Regions from separate parts of the Homo sapiens genome. Here region 2 is linked to region 1. Evidence: promoter capture Hi-C in 16 types of primary human blood cells and fetal thymus (Javierre and others, 2016). All regions are on one chromosome and are shown on one strand. Each heading gives the region's core, a stretch centred on a gene start or on the middle of the fragment in contact. The rest is flanking DNA. Distances are from core to core; before and after follow the strand shown. Region 1 holds the start of CBX2 (chromobox 2). Region 2 overlaps CCDC40 (coiled-coil domain 40 molecular ruler complex subunit).

The links. The method cuts DNA at HindIII sites, captures the fragments that hold promoters and counts their contacts. A CHiCAGO score of 5 or more calls a contact.
Region 2: a contact is called between a fragment that was not itself captured here and the fragment with the promoter of CBX2 in region 1, in 1 of 17 cell types (endothelial precursors). The highest score is 5.1, in endothelial precursors.

The regions. Positions count from the first base shown.
Region 1 is chr17:79,776,736-79,779,647 of GRCh38, reverse strand. It overlaps CBX2 (chromobox 2), which reads right to left and starts at 1,500. Exons shown (of 5, transcript NM_005189.3): 1 at 1,341-1,500; 2 at 1,221-1,264; 3 at 221-286. The coding sequence starts at 1,412. RefSeq lists an enhancer at 247-840 and silencers at 1,236-1,305, 1,316-1,695. The HindIII fragment of the contact is 13,003 bases long and covers 1-2,912 here.
Region 2 is chr17:80,067,389-80,070,436 of GRCh38, reverse strand. The region is part of intron 10 of CCDC40 (coiled-coil domain 40 molecular ruler complex subunit); the gene reads right to left. The region is part of intron 1 of LOC124904074 (a long non-coding RNA gene); the gene reads left to right. Among named protein-coding and RNA genes, the nearest start is that of MIR1268B, 30 kb to the left of the region's middle. The HindIII fragment of the contact is 611 bases long and covers 1,126-1,736 here.

The DNA.
Region 1 (2,912 bases), core at 251-2,750:
TTCTCAGGGATGGATACAGGCTGGCTAGGAGAAGGTGGGAGAGGGGCTGGCTGGGGACTTTTACAGCCAGCCACAGAGATGGCCCTGGACACAATCTTGCTAAGGGACCTCAGACCACAGCCCCAGCTCCAGCCTCCCGGCAGGCGAGCAGCGCCCAGCACGACTCCAACCAGCCACCGTCCCTCCCCCACACCCTCCCCAGTGCTGTCAGCGTCCTCACTTCTTCTGGAAGGCCAGGAGCAGCCTCGGGTCCAGGATGTTCTCCTCCGGCTCCCAGCTGTTATGTCTGCAAAGCAGAGGACAGGGCAGCATTAGACGCCAGGCTGATGATCACCGCTTTGCAAGGCAGCCCGAGGGGGCTCGCCCTCACCGCTCCTCGACTTGGGCCGATGGCAGTGGCACCGTAGCACCATGGCACTTCTCAAAGTCCAAACCCAGGTTTTGGAGGCTGGCCACCCCCCACCAAGCCAGCACTCTAACCTCAGACCCAAAGGGAAACTGCCGCTCCAACCCCCCAATTAAAACAAGGCCACAAGAGGACTCCCACAGTCTCTGCCTGGGAGAAAAACAAACCCCCATAAAACGCAAAGTTGCAGAGAGGGATTCCCCCAAACCCTGGCCCGGAGCCAGAGGAGGAAGGGAAGGCAGGTCCAGCATGCAGGGAGGGGCACAGGCGCCCAGCCCGAGATCCAGAACAATGTGGCGCGCGGGCCGGGGCACCTCGAGGGGTAGCGAAGAAAGAGCGGGGTCCGGGAAGACGCAGAAACGGGGCCGCGGGAGCAGCTGTGCAGAGAGCCCCTTCCGGGGATGCCAAACACCCTCCCTTCCATTAAAAGAAAGAAAAAAAAAAAGAAACTCTACATCCATCAATAGCAAGCTCAGGTTACAGCGGGGAGAATCTGGCCAAGAGGAGGGGGGCTTGCATCCCGCGCCTCCCTCCCGGCCGGGACGGGGGTTGGGGGGAGCGCGGCGCGGCAGCCGAGGAGGTTCTGGCGCGGGGGGCCGCCCAGCTCTGCACCCGCGGGCGTGTAAACAAAGGGCAACCTCGGGCCGGGCGGCCCCCGCCCCCCTCAGAGCCGGAGGAGCCCGCGGGGACCCCGCGAACTTCCCGCTCTGCCCGCGGGCGCCCCCAGGCCACCGGACGGCGCGGCCGAGGGGCTCCACGTCCCCACCCCCGGGCGAGGGGGCGGGAGGGGGGCGCGGCGTCGCGGGGGACTCACTTGGAGGACCAGCCGCGCCACTTGACCAGGTACTCCAGCTTGCCCTGCGGGGAGAGAAGAGGGGCCGTGAGCCAGACGGACAGCGGGCGGCGGGCGGGGGGCCCGGCGGGCCGCACGCACCTTGCGGAGCCGCTTGCTCAGGATGCACTCGGCGGCGAAGACCTGCTCGCCCACGCTGCTCAGCTCCTCCATGCTGCCCGGCAGCCAGCCCGACCGCGGCGCCCGCCGCCAGTCACCCGCCCGGACCGCCGCGCGCCCCGCCGGCAGCACACAAAGCACCGCCCCCGCCCGGCGCCGGCCCGCCCCGCGCACGCGCACCGCCGCTCCGCGCCCGCGCCCCGGCCCGCCGCCCGCCCCCGCGCGCTGCCCAAATCCCGTGCGGGCCAATCAGCGAGGGGGGGCGGGTGCGGGGCGGGGCGGGGCGCGCATTGTCCGCGGCGGGCTGGGCCTCGCGCTCCGGCGGGGGGTCCCGCGCGGGGCCCCGGGCGGGGGCGGGGGCGGGGGTGGGGGCGCGGGCGGGCCCCTGGCTGGGGGAGGAGGTGCCTAGGGACTTCGGGCCTGGGGCGCCCACCGAGTCCCGCGTGATTCCCGGGGCGCGCCCGCCCTTGCTCCCAACTCCGTTTTCCGGGCAAAAAGCCATTGTTCTGGCCCGAAGGGAGGGAAGCGGGACGGGGCGCGGCGGCTGCTTCCTGCCCCCGCCTTCGAGGGGCGCTGCTCCGGGGCACGCGGGGCCCCACCCTTCCCCCGGCTTCTTGAACTGGCTTTTCCTCGGCAGCGGGGGAGTCGCTCTGTTTTGGACGAGAGCAAAACGGGTCGGGGGCTGGGGAAGGAAAGGAAGACGAAGTCCGGGGGAGGGGCCCACAAACCCCAGCAGCCGAGGCTTTTTCCCCCAAAGGCGAGAGAGGAAAATGCTTTAACTTAAACCACCAAGCACTCTGAGAAAGAAGTAATACGAACTGCCCGGAGTTCTTATTAAACAGCTATGAAAAGTGGATCCAGCCCCCGAGTTTTAGGGCACGTGTAGGGAGAAAACCAGCTGCACCTTTTCTGAATTTGTTCCCCGATTTTGATGAAATGGAGGGGGAGGGGGCGGTTTGCAAGGCTGTTCCTAACTTCGGACTAGGTCAGTAGTGGCCCGCCAGGGCTGGGCAGCCGGCGTCCTTCGGATCAATTGTCCGCGGCAGAAAAGGGTCAGGCCATGTTATGAAAGTGGGGGTGACCCCTTGTCCTCCCTGTGATCGTCGTCAGCAGGCTACCCTTTTATTCCGGTGTTAAGATTCGAATTCCATGAAGAATCACCCTTTAAGTTATTTAGATTTTGAATCAGGACAAGTCAAACACGTAATGAAAGAGACCTGAGCCTTAGCTTCATTCGTCTCAACGCAGTCTAACTCCATGAAAATTCACTCTCTGCTTTTCTTGCTTCCTTGAACACAGCTGCAAAATTCTCTTTCTGTTGAGCAGATCCAAAAGTCGTTTCTTGTTGTAGGAGACTGTCTCAATGTAATTGTGATCATCAAAACCATATTTATAAAGGGTTCTGCAGGAGAAATGTGTTTTTTTGTTTTTACAGAAAGGCCTACTGGAGAAAATACTGAACTGTAGGAACCGATCTTTCAATTTATGGCGTGTTCTTCAGTTTCTTTGGTTAGATAGGTTACATTCATTTGATTTCCTGGAGAGTACGTGCAA
Region 2 (3,048 bases), core at 182-2,681, 290 kb before region 1:
TTAGAGACAAGGTCTTACTTTACTATGTTGCCCGGGCTGGTCTTGAACTCCTGGGCTTAAGGGATCCTCTTGCCTCAGTCTCCCAAAGCACTGTGATTACAGGCAGGAGCCACTATGCCCGCCCATGGGGGCACATTTTTAATGGGGTTGTTACTCTGTCTTTGGTCTGTGGCCTCAGGTCTGCTGGGTCACCAGTGTCCTTGGGTATATGGGGCATTGGTGGTGACTGGGACCCACCTGCCAGATCCCCAGGCTAGAAGGAGGCCTGCTGGGGACACTGTGGCAATGCCCACACCCAACCCATCCCACACTGCCTTCCGCTCCTTCCTCCTCCATCAACTGGGGGCAAGGACAGTGTCCCCTTTGAGGGGCTACACCAGACCGAGCTGAGCCTGGGGCTTGTTACCCAGGAAACAGTGAAATCACCCGCTCGTTGCCTAGCTCTAATTCTGCGTTCAGTGTCTTGCTCCATCCTGTCCTCCCTCCCTAGGGCAGGCTCCAGCACTCCATGCCAAGGGGAAGAGCCTTTGAGGAGTCGTCTCTGCCATCATCAGGACTGAGGGAAAAGGAAGTCTAGGAGATTAGGGCAAGCCCTCAGTTTTCTTTTCTTTTCTTTCTTTCTTTTTTTCTCTCTCTCTCTCTGTCTCTCTCTCTCTCTTTTTTTTCTTTTTCTTTCTTATTTTTTTGAGACGAAGTCTCGCTCTGTCACCCAGGCTGGAGTGCAGTGGCACCATCTTGCTTCACCGCCACCTCCACCTCCCGGGTTCAGGCGATTCTCCTGCCTCAGCCTCCTGAGTAGCTGGGACCACAGGTGCCCGCCACCAGGTCTGGCTGTTTTTTTGTATTTTTAGTAGAGACGGGGTTTCACCATGTTAGCCAAGATGGTTTCAATCTCCAGCTCCTGAGCTCGTGATCTGCCCGCCTCGGCCTCCCAAAGAGCTGGGATTACAGGCGTGAGCCACCGCGCCTGACCCCTTCAGCTTCCTCAGGTCGACTTAAACAGGAAACAGAATAACACGTTTCATGTTTCTCCTGAACTTTTATGACCGTGTGCAAAACTCCTGCAAAAATAGGGAAGACAGCAAGAAAAAGCAGCCAAGACAGGCACAGCTTCTGAGCTAAGCTTGCAGCTTGTGTATGAGACACGGGGGCAAGATTATGGTTACCGCCCCCCCCACGCAGCAGCAACCCCCTGACCAAGGACGGGGAAGTCAGTCTGTCTTCAAAGCATTAGGTTGTAGACTCGACATCAGACGAAGAGAGACACAAAGGCATGGGGAAAGAGAAAGGGTGAGGTTTGGCTGGAACCTAATCAAAGGTATTAACTTATCTGAAAAAATGCCATGGGTGTCAGGAGGGAGGAGGGGTGGGGAATGGAATGGAGAAAGCAGCCAAGGTCAGGGTGAGGGCTGCTCGCGGGACACCTCCCGCCCATGTGGACGGACAGGCCATGAACTTCGGGGAAGAAGCAGGAAGCAGACAGGGCCGGGGCCCAGGCATTCCGCCCTCTAGCCGGTCCCTGAGCAGGGGTCTGTGTCATCCGCTCCTGTGTCCTCCCCCACAGATAAGAATCTGCTAGTCCGAGCGTGGAGCATTCGGTTCTTTGGTGTTTATATTTCATCATGCACATAAATGGGCTATTATACTCAGTTACACGTCAGGCTCTGGTGAGCTCGATTCATGTAAACTAACTCCAGGACAAGTGTGCCTTCTCGGTGTGATGGCAAAACCAAGCTTCTGGGCCAGGGGGTCCTGCCCCATGGGGATCTCGCAGGGTGAAGGCTCCAGAAATGCCCAGACAGCCACCAGGGTACCGGCCTGGTATGCACCATCCTGACCATCAGCCAGGAATGTCACCATTTTCTAAGATGCTCTACAAATCTGAACATCTCAAGGTCAATATTTGAGGTATAGTTCAGTCACTGCACTCCTAGCTTGGAAGTCCTAAGCTATGCAATAATTTATTTCTGTAATAATGGCCCTGATCTATTAAACCTGTCTCCAAGTTGCTTCTTCAAATCTATCTGGGTGCAAACAGCAAATCTCTGTAATTACAGTTTATACTTCTCACAATGTTCTACACGGCCTGCACTTTTAAAAGACTGGCCGGGCGCAGTGGCTCCCGCCTGTAATCCCAGCACTTTGGGAGGCCAAGACGGGTGGATCACCTGAGGTAGGGGTTCAAGATCAGCCTGGCCCACATGGTGAAACCCCGTCTCTACTAAAAATACAAAAATTAGCCAGGCGTGGTGGTGCACGCCTGTAATCCCAGCTACTTGGGAGGCTGAGGCAGGAGAATCGCTTGAACCCAGGAGGCGGAGGTCGCAGTGAGCAGAGATGGTGCCACTGCACTCCAGCCTGGGGGACAGAGCGAGACTCCATTGCAAGAACCACAAAAATATAATAAATAAAAGTTGGGCCTCACTCCTCCCCGGGGCCTTGGTGTGGCAAGCTGCAGGTGAAGTCAGAGGCTCTCTCACTCGTTGTGAAGTGTTTGTGCGTGTACATAGTCCACTAAAATATTCACTCAACATTCTGCGCATGCACGTTTTATAAAACAAGATTATCTATTTTCTTCATCAATCGGATTGGCACAGTCCTGAAGTGTGACAACATGCTGAGCTGTCAGGGGACTTTGAAACACCGCTGCCGGGGGCGTGACTGTCACAATCCTACTTAGCAATACCCGCTAGACCCAGACATTCCGGGCTTGATAGGCAATATAAAAAAGGCTATATAGCATCCTGGTGAGCGTTAGCATTCGCGGATCCGGTTATCTACAGCAGCACCGCCATAACAGACGGACGCGAACGCCCTCGATGCCCCGGGCAGGAAGCTTCCCCGTAGAAGTATCCCAGCGGAATGCCATGTGGTAGAAAGGCGGGAACGAGCGGTGTTTATATTTTGACTTGGGAAGCGCTCTAGGGACACGCTGTTAAATGGAAAAAGCAAAGAGGTGCAGAACAGTGAGTGTGGTGTGCTCCCACGGAGCAAGAGAGGGAAGGAAGACTCCGGGTGAACGCATATGCTTTCTTGCAATTGCACACA